Linked DNA regions of Homo sapiens: all the other regions are linked to region 1. Evidence: promoter capture Hi-C in 16 types of primary human blood cells and fetal thymus (Javierre and others, 2016). All regions are on one chromosome and are shown on one strand. The core of a region is centred on a gene start or on the middle of the fragment in contact, and the rest is flanking DNA. Distances in the headings are between cores, read along the strand shown.

Region 1 (3,333 bases), core at 123-2,622:
ACATAAAAAGGAGGAATAGTATTTCTCAGCCGGATGCAGCCAGAGATGGAAGGAGGATAGCATCTAAACCTTCCCTATAGTTTTCCTCAAATGGACAGCTCCTGAGTTCATGCACTTGTCACCCCGGCTTCTGCGTGGGATATAACTACAGGGATGGGGAGGGGAAACAGGAGATGGGCTAATACTGAATGCTTCCTGTTGATTAAAAAGGCACTTCAAACATAGCTGGCTGGGCACAGTGGCTCATGTCTGTAATCCCAGCACTTTGGGAGGCCAAGGTGGGCGGATCACAAGGTCAGGAGTTCGAGACCAGCCTGGCCAAAATGGGAAACCCCGTCTCTACTAAACAAATACAAAAATTAGCCAGGCATGGTGGCCTGCGCCTGTAATCCCAGCTACTAGGGAGGCTGAGGCAGAAGAATTGCTTGAACCCGGGAGGTGGGGGTTGCAGTTAGCCGAGATTGCGCCATTGCACTCCAGCCTGGTGACAGAGCGAGATTCCGTCTCAAAAAAAAAAAAAAAGTTAGCTATATCCTCCTGCAAATATGTATATAAAGAAGATATTTTAGTTCAAATTAGCCTTGGAAATATTCATGTAATTCTTTATTACATTTAGTTTCACACTAGGATGATTTCACTTAAATGATTGAAGGCATATATCTGGAATTAGCAGAGAATTCATGTTTAACAATTTATCATTATAAATGATAAATTATAATATTTATCAATTATAAGTTATAATAAATATTAAATAAACTATAATAAACCTATAAAATAAATTATAATAAATATTAATTATACCACAAAATCATGGCCCTATAAAACAATGACAAGGTTAATCAAATCTGTCTGTAAATAGCAAGACTCAATGGTGGCATTATGCCAATGCCCGAAATTACTATAAAAACTCCCAAATAACATTGTTATCCTTGTAAATGCTTCCTTGTAAAGACTGCAGTAGGTGCCTATTTCTTGGAGGAAGAGAACTGGACATTAAAAGAAAGGCTCTGCCTACAGGAGCTTCGAATCTACCAAAGGGAAGCTCAAATCCCGCCCAGCGGACCCGCCCGCTTCCCCTAAGCTTGCCTCCCGCCACGAAAGCTGGAAAGTCACTGGGGGCGGAGCTAAGGGGAGCTGCGAGAATTCCGGGGGATGTGACCGGACTGGGCGGGGCCTGTACCTTGGCCCTGCGCTCCCGTTGACGTCGCATCCTGTCAGTATTTCGCCAAACCTCCAGGCGCCATCAGTGTGTGAACCGTTACGCAGCTGGTCCACCGCGGGCGGAGAACAAGCGACTATGCCCAGGGATCCTGCACGCATGCGTGGAGCTGAACCGTCAGCGTGCGTGTGACGTCACCTGCGCGCCCGCCTAAACTCTTCCTAGGGTTCTTTCTAGAGTACGGGTGAGTGAAATTTGTAAGGTTTGGTGTGTTCATTTGAGTGGGTGCCAGACGTAACGGGCCCGGGATTGAATTAGTTTAGATCAAAATTTGATGTAATTATCGCAGAGAAACGCTTTCTTACGAGTGTTTATCTCGAGCCTGCTGTGTTCAGCATCTTTCTTGGTGTTTTGGGAGAAGCAGACAGGAGTTAAGTCCAAGTCCCCGCCCTCACAGAGCTCAGGTGGCTTGGGGGAAGGTTGGTGCGCAAACATTAAAATTAGATATCGACACTAGTGAGTGTCCCCGTCAAGAGGTCTGTGAAATAAGGTTGAGCCTACGATGCAGAAGTTAATCTCAGTTCAGTAATTTTTGTTTCTTCATTTATTTAGCGGGTGAAGGGAGGGGGCCACAGAAACATGTTGGAGTACGATGCTTTTGGTGCACAGTTTGTCTATACAATATTACAGCTCCCGTGGGGGTTAAAAAAAAACACGATTTTTCAGCCTCCCTCTTCCCCAATAAATTTTACATTTTAAAGCACAATGTTAAAAGCGTTTGTTAGTGACGTTACAGATCTTAAAACTGGCTTTTTGGAGGTACTTTACGCAGCTAAGTAGAAAATGGTTAAGTTTCAGTTCCTTGGAAGAATGTTTTGTATTGATCTTTGCAATAAAATTGTAAAATAATCCATCCTCCTGTCACCCCCCAACCCCGAACCGTGTTAACTATAATAAGGAAAAGCATAACTAAGTCAAAGAGACTTAAAGCAAATTATTGACTTCATTTTGGGTAAAACACTGGTTTTGTATTTTCAGCAGCAAGTTGTCAGATTCCCTAGTTGAATTTGCTTTGGACATCAGTGTGAAGCAGAACTGATATGCCACTTGAATTAATAAAGGAAGTCAATGGGGTGCCTGAAGTTCAGCCGCTGAGTAAATTACATAAAGTAGATTTCGGATCCCTACAGCCAGGTTACAATTATAGCAAGAAATATATTCAGGTAAGAATTTCTATAACTCAGAATGCTTTTTCCTACTAAAAGGAATGCAGTTTTTAAGTGTTGAGTTTATTTATGAGAACTGGTTTAGGTATGGTTTTTATCTTTGTCATAACATTTGAGATTGAATATTTCAATAAGTTATTCTTATTCAGTACTTATTTAGCGAACAATTATCAAATTCGTGTGTGAAACATTGGAGTAAGTTTCTGAGGTACAAAGATGAATAAATATAGTCCCGGAACTAAAGATAATCACATTTCTGTGGGGTCTGACAGATCAATCACCTGATCTCCAATTAAAATTAATAGGTGTGATATTAGCATTGTGATGTGTGAACATGAGAGAGCTTTTGGTTCTGACAGATCACGAAAGTTGAGCTGGAACTTACGGGATAACAGACTGTGCTGTACCTTCCTTTGAGGTAAAAAGCAGTCCTTATGTGCATGTTGAGGAATTTGGATATTACTCTAAAAGCTATGGGAAGTCTTTAGTAGGTTTTAGCAGGAGAAAGACATGATTTACTTTGAGTTCAAAAAACTTTGCTCCTAGGTAGAGAATATATTGGCGAATGCAAGATTAGAGGAAAGATGTTTAGTTAAGAGGCAATTACAGTAATTTAGGTGAGAGTTGATGATGATCTGGGCCAGTGGCAGAGGGGATGATGGGAAGGATATTGAAAAAAGATAGTAATAATAATAACTAAAGTTAACATTCATTGCATTTTTTTCCATGCGTTAGGTAGTTTTTACGTATATTATTTAATCATCACAAAGACCTATGACATAGGTACTGTTATTAAAGACACTGTGTTTCAGAAAGGTTAAGCAATTTGCCTGAGATCATATTGATGATATGAAGTAGAGCAGGAATTTGAATATAGATGATTTCCTTTAGACCTGACAGGATAAAGAAGCAGAATCAGTAGGTCTTAGAGAACAATTAGACTAGAGT
Region 2 (3,176 bases), core at 308-2,807, 2.7 Mb before region 1:
CACATGGGAATTGGGCGAGGGGATCTTAAAATCAGCTTTACACACACATAAGCTGCAGAACATTTTAATCTTGTGAAAGATAACAGGGTAATAAAATAGAATTTTTTTTAAACTGGGTCTTGCTATGTTGCCCAGGCTGATCTCCAACTCCTGGCCTCAAGCAATCCTCCCACCTCGGCCTCCTAAGTGCTGGGATTACCACCATGAGCCACCGCACCAGGCCTAAAATAGAATTTTTCAAAACTTTCTACAACAGCAAAACTTGTGGAGCCTTGGGAGAAAGTATCACAAAAGATATTTGCTGTTGCAGATACAAATGTCAGAACTGCAGTATGAAACGACATCTAGAAGTTTACAGTCATCATAAACCAGAAAATTGGTAAAACCAAGAAATGTCAGGTTCCAAGATTTGGAAGGGTTTTGGGGAGGACAACTGGGGGCAAGTGATAAACTGAATTTATATTATCAAATTATCATGGAGCTAGGAGTAAATTGTAAAAATAAACTTTGCAGGTTCAAATTCAAAATTGAAGAATTTTCAAAAAGTTGAGGGTATATAAAATCAGGCAGAATCTATAGTGCTATGAGCACTAGACCAGGAATCCGAACACTTGGGCTCTTGCTATGGCTCCAACCCAAACCACCATGTGACCTTAAGCAAGTCACTTGCCTTCTTCAAGCCTATCTCCTTATCTTTAAGGGACGGGAGAACAATGATGATTACTAAGATTCTTGCCGGCCTAACCTTTTAGAAGTCAAAAGTACACAAAGATCAGGAGCTTTCAGGTCGACACAAGAGGTGGAGGGAAAGAGAGGAAAAGAGGGCCACAGAGTGAGAAAACTTGGGAGTCAAGTAACAGCGTTTGTGGGAACAGAAAAGTTTCATGATGGCCAAGTACTAGTAGAGAAGAGCCGATGTCAGGATCTCGAAAAACTACTAACTACTCAGCATATGTCAAAATGAACAGAAAGACGGGGGATGGGAGGACAGATATCAACGAATTGTCTCTGTTAATCAATCAGTAATCGATCTGTCCTGGTAAACAGACAGGAGATCCGAATGCCGCAACCTCGGAAATCACTGTGACCCCTGATGTCAAGGTGTCCGGGAGGCAAGGAACAAGGGGACTCCGTGTCTGCTTCCGTCTAGTGAGAGGATTCGGAGAATCGACGAAAAGTGAGGAAGGGGGCAGAGGAAAGGGGATCTGGGACATGGAGCAGGCTGGCGGAAGGTGGAGTCAATGCCTGACTCCCGCCCGAAGGCAGGCAGAGGGGTCGGTGTCCGGGGCCCGTTCTCACCATCTTGATGATGCCCCGCTGCACGGTGGGGACCGCGGGTCCCCCGGAGGAGCCGCCGCTCTGCGCGGAGGACGCCATGTGTGGAGATGCAAAGGCAACGAGTGGAGCGGCTGGCCGGACTGGAGGTGTCAATGTGGGTGTCGGTGTTGGTGAAAGGGAGTCGAGGCGAGGGGCAGGCTGGCTACCAGCTGCGGACGGTGGACGGGACGGACTCGCCGGGCGCTCACAGGAGCAGCAGCGGGACACGGAGCGAAAGAGACGCGATCTCCGCCGCCGCCACACGTTCTACTCGCCGCGCAAGCGTGCCAGAGCGCCACCGCCCTCCGCCCAATTAGCGCCCAGAGCCCGCCGGCCCTCAGGCCAATAGGCACCCTGCTCGCGGAGCCCCGCCTCTTGGTCCCCAAAACGGTGGTGAGTTCCAGGAAGCGCTGAAAGAGTTGATTTGCAAGGATGGGCTAAATATGGGGCGGGACTTCCGGGGCAGCCGGAGTAGGTAATGTCGGGAGGTGTAGTGGGAAGGAAAGGACACGTCAGCATCTGGCCGCGGGGCGCGGGGGGCCATGGGAGCCCCAGGGGCGGAGCCAGCCGCGCCCTCCCGCCTGACCTCGCCCATGACGTCCTTCCCCGCTGGCCTCAGGGGCGCACACTTGTATACCCACCTAGGTGGGCGCCGCTGTACCCGGGAATGCGGCCTGGGAGGGTGGAGCCACGCAGGCAGAGTCCTGGAGGAATCTCCGTACCCGCTCCACTCGACTTCCGACATTTTACCTTGGCTAAAAGTATGGAGAGAACTTGGAAAATCAGAGCTTTGTGGAACCTCCTACCGATGTGGGCTTTGACCTGCCACGCGGCCGCGCGCCCTTTTTGTAGTCAGAGAGTGTGCCTCGCCCTTGTTTGTGTCGCTGGGGTCTAGCACTTGTGAGGCGTTCCATTAATGTTTGTTGGTGGGAGGAATAAATGTCTCAGAGGAAGGACATGCCACGTATACAGGGGAGAGTGACCCTCGTTCTTCGGTCTCTTCCCAGCTGCTCCCGTGACGTTAGGGAAAAGGCTCGCTTCACGCTCTCACCCGACCCAGTGTGAAGCGCCTCCAGCCACCGGATACCTTCCCTAGCCCCAGTAAAAAGGTCGGGGAAGGAACGGGAAAGCCAAGGCCTACAAATATTTAAGTGACTGTTTAGCGAGAACTAATATTCGTTGAGTGCCCACTATGTGGAACCAAGGACCTTGCATGTGTTATGTCATTTAATCGTAAAACTTGGCTCTACACTGAAGACAGTACTTCCCTTGCAGTTCTTTTTGTTTCTTTGGTTTTGTGGCTTTTTTGAGACAAAGTCTCGCTCTGTCGCTCAGGCTGGAGTGCGGGGGCACGATCACGGCTCACTGCAGCCTTGACACTCCCAGGCTCAAGCGATCCTCCTGCCTCAGTCTCCGGTGTAGCTGGAGCTGGTACCACGGGTCCGCGCTACCACGCCCAGCTAATTTTTTTTTTGTAGAGCTGAGATTTCACTATGTTGCCCAGGCTGGTCTCCTGGGCTCAAGCTATACTCCTACCTCGGCCTCCTAAAGTGCTGGTATTACATGCATTAACCACAGTGCATGGCCCCTTGCTCTCTTAAAAGATTGTAAGTTTATTCTCCCACACTAAACATATCCCAGGGTTAAGTTTTGAGGTCACCTTCTTAGATCCCTAATTTGCCACCCTTTTCCAAAAAAAAAAAAAAAAAAAAAAAAAACCTCTGTGGAAGTTGGTTCCATCAGATTATACCCCTCTCTATCTCGTGGCTTTTTATCTACCGTACCCCTATTTCTACCGTGTCATTCATTGAAATTGTTAACACTTGGTGCACGGTCTTCAGCCAATAATCCTGAAATAC
Region 3 (3,317 bases), core at 572-3,071, 2.3 Mb before region 1:
ACCCAGCCCATTTTCTCTCTCCAAATCCTCCTCCCTCCCTCTTTTGTGGTTGCAGCTATAAAATAATGATTCAACAATCAAAGAGCCTCTCATGAGATGGGAGAAGGAAGGGAACGAAAGGGGAAGAGGTGCCCTGGGCTGAAAACCTGTAGATTTTTTCTAAGTGACAAAGGGCAAGGGTCCTTTTTTGAAATTAGGAGAGAGACAGCTGTTTCCTCAATCGAAACTTCGCACATTACAACCAGCCTTGGGAAAAGCCAACACCACCAGGGAGGAAGTGCTATGGGGTTTTGAAGCCAGACACTGATTTCTGGCTGTAATACTTTCCAGCCGTGTCTCTAAGCCTCGGCTTCTGCCTCCATCTGTAGAGTGGGCTTAATAATTTTGACCATCTCACAGAGTTGATGTGAAAATTAAAATAACCCGAACAGAACAGGCGATATATACAGGAATTAATGAAAGATTCCTGACATAATGCTTATAAGTTCATGATGCTTAGGAAGATAAAATTCATTGTAGAGATGCCGAACGGGGGTCTAGAGCTTGCCTTTTCGGGGTCTCTCCCGTCCTTCTCCATCCTCCTTATCTCCTGGGCTGCCCCCTCTCCCCCCGCGCCCCGCTCTCCCTGGCTCGCCCGGGCCTAGGGCGCCGCCTGCAGTTGCGCGCGGCCGCCTCTAGATGGAACTTTCTCACCAACGCAAGGCCCGGCCGGAGCAGCTACCCGGGAGCTGGGCGGCGAGGGGCTACTTTCTCTCATTCCGGCGGGTGCAGGATCGGGGGGCCTGGGCAGTAACTAGTGGGGAGGAGCGCTGGACTGTGCACGTCGAGCCCGGCAGGTTTCCGCATGCGGCATGCGAAGGGAATCCCGAGGTTTCCCTGCAGAACCCGAGCACGGCTCCCCCGGAGTTTCCTGCCCCGCGTCTGCGGCTCCTTGAATCATCTCAATAAAATGACCGTCCCGGTAGCCACCCATGCCCCTTCCTGCGCAGTGCCCGCAGCGGACCGCGCTGTGTGGTACCTCGAGCCCTGGGGACTCTGTTGCACGCGTCCCTCAGACCCTCGGGGGCGGGGAGTGGGGAGACAATCGCCAGAGCCGCGGGGCGGGACAAATGGCGGAACCGCCGCGCGGCGCCAGGCAAACTTTGCAAGGGAACCGCGCGGCTTGCCGGCTCTACTTTAAGCATTCCCGAAAAGAAAGCATGTGGCGGGACACTTGTCATCTACCATGTGTTATTCTCGGTGACGCTTTCTGGAGCTGTGTTCACCGGGGACCCGGGCTCGCGGGTGCTGCCCGCTGTGCTCGGGCGGGCGTCGCGCCTCCCCGCGCCGGTCCCGGGCTCGCCAGGCAGCCGGAGCCGCTGGGCTCCTCCACAACCATATTCCTTCTTCTACCGCTCCCGCTTCTTCCCACCCTCTCACTCTGTAGTTGGGTCCTCCCCTTTTTCTTGGGGGCGGGGAAGGGGGGATGATTTTTAAAAATCAGAACTATTGACATTTCTGGTCTCCTCGTCGCTTCAGGCTGAAGAGCGGAGGGGGATCCGCGGGCCGAGGGTCCCCCTCCCTGCCCGCGCCAGGGCCGCTGGGTGACACCGAAATCCAGAGGCTCCCGCCCCTCGGGGGTTCCTCCTCCCGCTTCCCGAGGTGACTGGTTGGCGCGAAGCGATTGGCGATCCCGGGCGCGATCCTGGCCGCGGCTCCCCGCGCCGCGCCGGGTGAATGGCCGCGGGCGGAGGATCGGGAGGCGCCGGGCGCAGACCAATCGCGGCCGCCGGTGGGAGTATTTGTTATTCACATGGAAGAGACTTGGCGCCTGCTAGGCCAGCTCAGCCCCCTCAGCCCAGAGATCAGCCACAAGTGCGGCCGCTGTGCTCGCCTCACGCGGCGGCGGCGGCGGCGGCGGCGGCGCTGACATGGAGCTGCGGGCCCCCGGCGGGCTTCCTCACCGCGCCCTCTGCGGGGAGCAGGGTAAGACTCGCCGCCCGGCAGCAGAAAGCGGCTCCGAGGAAAGCAAGTGCCGAACCACGGGACAAAAAGCCCCTGGCCCCCAAACTTCCCCAAAACGCCCTGCTTGTTGGAAAAGGAGAATCCCCCCGTTTTATTCCCCTTTCCGTTTTCTTCTCTAAAACCTTTCAGCGGACAGCCAGGTGCACCATTCCTTCTCATATCACTCTAGTGATTTGTTTTTCCTGAGCACAAGTAGATGGCCCTGCATGTCCGTAGTCTGTGAGAGAAATAGCGGGCGGAGGTGACGGGAATGGGGGGAGAAGGAGAGTGGGCACCAGGGGGCGAGGGGCTGGCCGGGCATTGGAGCTTGATTGGGTGTCTGTTGATTTTACGTTGCAAAGAACAAGGCAGCCACCCCTCTTGTCTGCCCATGATTACATTACAGTAAAGAGGTTCAGAAAAGAGGGAGACTTTACCCGGAACTCCCAAGGCTTGGAGATGTGATCCCCCAAAAGTTTAGTCGGCGAATGGGAGACTGAAGGGTGACGGGAAGGGGGCAGGCGCGCTCGGCGCTCTGACTGGGCGTGCGGCGGCAGGATTTTAAAGCGCTCTGCCTCGGATCGTCTGCCCTGGGTGACCTCCCGGACCTGCCCTGGTGGAATCCGGACTTGCCCCGCCGAGATGACGAGGTACCTTCGTTTCGCGAACCTAACAGGAGGGATTTCTGAAGTTAGCGGCTTCCGGGATGAGTCGGGGTAACCCCCGCCCTCTGAGCGTGGGCTGGATGGATGTCTAACCAGGATCTAGGGAGGATGGGGGTCGCGGGGGAAGCCGGGCGCTTCGGGGTCCTCGACACCCACATCCCCGCACGGCGCACGCTCTGCCTCGAGTTTGCGTTCTCCGAGTTAGCACGGCGAGCTTGGGATTTCCGTGCCCCTCTTTTGTGGCTTTCGAGAAACGCCGGAGTTCCGTGTCCTGCTGGGGGTTGGGGGGATGGAGAAAAGGTCTCGGGGATCTTGTTTAAAAAGCAAAGGCAAACGCACCCCAACAGCTCCTCGGTAGCTCCCGCGGCTGGCGCGGCCCCAGTTTCGGGCGGCCCCGCGCGGGGCGTGGGCGCGGGCGCTCGGGCGGCCAGGTGCGGCGGGGGCGGAGGCTGCATCCCCAGCGCGCCGGAATGCCCCGGGGCGCGGGAAAGGCAAAAGCAGCCTGGCGCTCTCCCCACGGCCCCAGTCTCTATCTACCCAGAACCCGGCTTCAACAGCCCAAGGAACTGAGAAGAAAAAGGAACCTGCGCTGGGAAACAGGGGCTCCTGGCGGGCTGAGTGGTCGCTGTTATGGTAGAGATAGAAACGGAGAGGTAGAGATGGACCGCT
Region 4 (3,176 bases), core at 190-2,689, 2.7 Mb before region 1:
CCGTGCCTATAAAAGCCTGCTGAAGGAGAAAGAGGCATTAGAGGCCAGCATCAAGGTGCTGTCGGTATCCCACGAGGCAGATGTGGGCCTCGCAGGTGTCCAGCTTCCAGGCCTCACCTTTCCTGACTCTGTGGATGACCGGTGCTCCACTCACAGCGAGGATAGCACTGGGACCGCCACTAGCTTGGATACTGCGGCCAGTCTCACCAGCACCAAGGGTGAGTTTGGGGTAGAAGATGACAGACCGGCCCGTGGACCACCACCTCCAAAGTCCGAAGAGGCCAGTTGGTCCGAGAGTGGCGTTAGCAGTAGCAGTGGGGATGGGCCATTTGCAGGTGGGGAGGTGGACAAAAGACTGCACCAGCTGAAGACTCAGTTGGCTACTTTGACCAGTTCTTTGGCTACAGTCACTCAGGAGAAGTCCCGCATGGAGGCTTCTTACTTGGCTGACAAGAAAAAGATGAAACAGGACTTAGAGGATGCCAGTAACAAGGCGGAGGAGGAGAGGGCCCGCCTGGAGGGAGAATTGAAGGGGCTGCAGGAGCAAATAGCAGAAACCAAAGCCCGGCTTATCACGCAGCAGCATGATCGGGCCCAAGAGCAGAGTGACCATGCCTTGATGCTGCGTGAGCTCCAGAAGCTGCTGCAGGAGGAGAGGACCCAGCGCCAGGACTTGGAGCTTAGGTTAGAAGAGACCCGAGAAGCCTTGGCAGGACGAGCATATGCAGCTGAACAGATGGAAGGATTTGAACTGCAGACCAAGCAGCTGACCCGTGAGGTGGAGGAGCTGAAAAGTGAACTGCAGGCCATTCGAGATGAGAAGAATCAGCCAGATCCCCGGCTGCAAGAACTTCAGGAAGAGGCTGCCCGCCTTAAGAGCCATTTCCAGGCTCAGTTACAGCAGGAAATGAGAAAGGTAATTATCCATATCTCTTTCAAACATCAGCCATTGACCTGAAGTGAGAAATATTAGGGTTTTTTTCCTCCTTTGCTAGTTAGAGCTAAGTGTCTATACTGTCATTTTTGATGCCACCTGAGAAGTTCCACTAGTGAACCTGGGAAGTCCTGTTCTATGCGGTGTTGACATATGTGCTTCCAGGAGGATGTGGAGCTTCTCAGTGTAGGCTGGGTTGAAGCCAGACAGCTCTGCACTTCTGGGCATTGGCATCTTACCAGCTGTGCTCTATGAAGCAGTATAGTGGCAGCTGTATAGTAAAAGGTAGCGTGTCTTCTGTTGGTATGTGCCTCTAGGAAGAGTGGCCGAAGGCAAAGGGGATTTTCTCAGAAGTAACCTCTTGTCATTGCCTTTACTCAAGATGTGCCTGTTCTGGAGAAGTGCTATTTTCCAGAACAGGTATTGAAAGGGTGCCTCCTTTCAATGTGGAGAGGGAGATCCAGCGCAGTTTTGAACTTCCAGGAATATTGGATAAGGAAAAGAATGCTGTATGATTTCTTAATAGGATTTGAGGAAGCACCTGAGAAACAACAGTAACACACATTATATGTGGTTAGGTGGAAAGCAGAACAATAGCAGATGTACCAAGGTGCTTCATATTGTTCAGTATAATATGTGTCTTGCAGAATCCAAGCAGGTAATAGGAACTTTTGTTAGCTCCTGAATCAACCGAAAAATCCCTAGTTAGCATTCTTGCCAGGCCATCCCAAACCTGTGACCCTTTTGCTCCCCTCTCCTGCTTTCTCAGAGTTTGCTGTGGGGCTTTTGTGGATGCATTTTTGTCTGTTCCCTTGTTTTGCAGACAGCTCTTGCAGAGGATCAACTCCGTCAGCAATCTCAGGTAGAAGAACAGAGGGTGGCAGCCCTGGAGAATCAAATATCCGAGGTGTCTGAGCTGCTAGGCACCTACGAGAAAGCCAAGCAGAAGGACCAGCTGGCCATTCAGAAGCTGAAGGAGCGCATTCTGCAGCTGGACCTGGAGAACAAGACACTGGCTCTAGCAGCCTCCAGCAGGTCCCCTTTAGACAGCCATGGAGAGGAGTCCAGTCTGGATGTCAATGTCCTGAAAGATAAGATGGAGAAGCTGAAGAGGCTGCTGCAGGTTGCGGCCAGGAAAAGCCAGGTGACCCTGGATGTGGAGAAGCTCTGTGACCTGGAGATAATGCCCAGCTCGGAGGCTGCTGATGGGGAGAAGGCTACTGCACTCTATTACCAACAGGAGCTGAAACAGCTGAAGGAAGAGTTTGAGAGGTACAAGATGAGAGCCCAGGTTGTCCTCAAAAGCAAGAATACCAAAGATGGTAACCTGGGAAAGGAGCTGGAGGCAGCCCAGGAACAGCTTGCAGAGCTGAAGGAGAAGTATATTTCCCTGCGGCTCTCCTGCGAGGAGCTGGAGCACCAACACCAGCAGGAGGCTGATGACTGGAAGCAGGAGCTGGCCCGGCTGCAGCAGCTCCACCGGCAGGAGCTGGAGCGGTGCCAGCTGGACTTCAGGGACCGCACACTGAAACTGGAGGAGGAGCTGCACAAGCAGCGGGATCGTGCCCTAGCTGTGCTCACCGAGAAGGACTTGGAACTGGAGCAACTGCGTTCTGTGGCCTTGGCCTCTGGGCTGCCAGGACGCAGAAGTCCTGTGGGTGGTGGCGGTCCTGGGGACCCAGCTGACACATCATCCTCTGATAGCCTGACCCAAGCATTACAACTTGCAGCGGCCAATGAGCCCACTTTCTTTCTGTACGCTGAGCAACTGGCCCGCAAGGAGGTGGAGATCACATCACTGAGGAAGCAGAAGCACAGGCTGGAGGTCGAGGTGCATCAGCTGCAGGATCGGCTGCTGGAGGAGGGCGAACGGCATCGTGAGGAGGTTGCAGCCCTGCAGAGCCACATCGAAAAGAACATCAGGGACCAGAGCAGGGAGGGAGCCAATCTGGAGTACCTCAAAAACATCATCTACCGCTTCCTGACCTTACCTGACTCCCTGGGCCGCCAGCAGACTCTCACAGCCATACTGACTATCTTGCACTTCAGTCCAGAGGAGAAACAAGTGATAATGCGACTCCCAACCAGTGCCAGCTGGTGGCCTTCTGGCAAGAGATGATGCCATTTTCATGAATTCCTGGAATTTCTGTGCCTCTTTTATGTGGGAAAGGGCAGGCTCTGGTTTCTGCTGCCTCTTCTCTTACATTGTCATTTATTTCTTCACTGTGTTGAGCTGGGAGGA

The links. Contacts are between HindIII fragments. The CHiCAGO score rates a contact against its expected background, and 5 or more counts as called.
Region 2: a contact is called between the fragment with the promoter of SND1 here and the fragment with the promoter of POT1 in region 1, in 9 of 17 cell types (non-activated CD4 T cells, naive CD8 T cells, total B cells and 6 more). The highest score is 23.8, in non-activated CD4 T cells.
Region 3: a contact is called between the fragment with the promoter of GRM8 here and the fragment with the promoter of POT1 in region 1, in 1 of 17 cell types (activated CD4 T cells). The highest score is 8.3, in activated CD4 T cells.
Region 4: a fragment that was not itself captured here is called in contact with the fragment with the promoter of POT1 in region 1 in 1 of 17 cell types (total CD4 T cells); the score reaches 5.9 in total CD4 T cells.

Annotation. Positions count from the first base shown.
Region 1 is chr7:124,927,864-124,931,196 of GRCh38, reverse strand. It overlaps POT1 (protection of telomeres 1), which reads left to right and starts at 1,372. Exons shown (of 19, transcript NM_015450.3): 1 at 1,372-1,403; 2 at 2,198-2,382. It overlaps POT1-AS1 (POT1 antisense RNA 1), which reads right to left and starts at 1,324. Exons shown (of 8, transcript NR_125719.1): 1 at 1,181-1,324. RefSeq lists enhancers at 1,088-1,382, 1,137-1,436. The HindIII fragment of the contact is 3,988 bases long and covers 1,084-3,333 here.
Region 2 is chr7:127,650,575-127,653,750 of GRCh38, reverse strand. SND1 (staphylococcal nuclease and tudor domain containing 1) reads right to left here and starts at 1,557. Exons shown (of 24, transcript NM_014390.4): 1 at 1,300-1,557. The coding sequence starts at 1,377. It overlaps SND1-DT (SND1 divergent transcript), which reads left to right and starts at 1,919. Exons shown (of 2, transcript NR_186577.1): 1 at 1,919-2,078. RefSeq lists enhancers at 1,339-1,518, 1,343-1,961 and a silencer at 1,759-2,008. The HindIII fragment of the contact is 9,151 bases long and covers 1-3,176 here.
Region 3 is chr7:127,251,445-127,254,761 of GRCh38, reverse strand. It overlaps GRM8 (glutamate metabotropic receptor 8), which reads left to right and starts at 1,821. Exons shown (of 11, transcript NM_000845.3): 1 at 1,821-1,965. RefSeq lists a silencer at 554-613 and an enhancer at 734-983. The HindIII fragment of the contact is 9,242 bases long and covers 1-3,317 here.
Region 4 is chr7:127,581,891-127,585,066 of GRCh38, reverse strand. GCC1 (GRIP and coiled-coil domain containing 1) reads left to right here. Exons shown (of 2, transcript NM_024523.6): 1 at 1-916; 2 at 1,758-3,176. The coding sequence ends at 3,053. All of the region lies in intron 1 of LOC105375490 (a long non-coding RNA gene), which reads left to right. Among named protein-coding and RNA genes, the nearest start is that of GCC1, 2.1 kb to the left of the region's middle. RefSeq lists enhancers at 1-122, 123-1,123, 842-2,041. The HindIII fragment of the contact is 4,362 bases long and covers 1-3,176 here.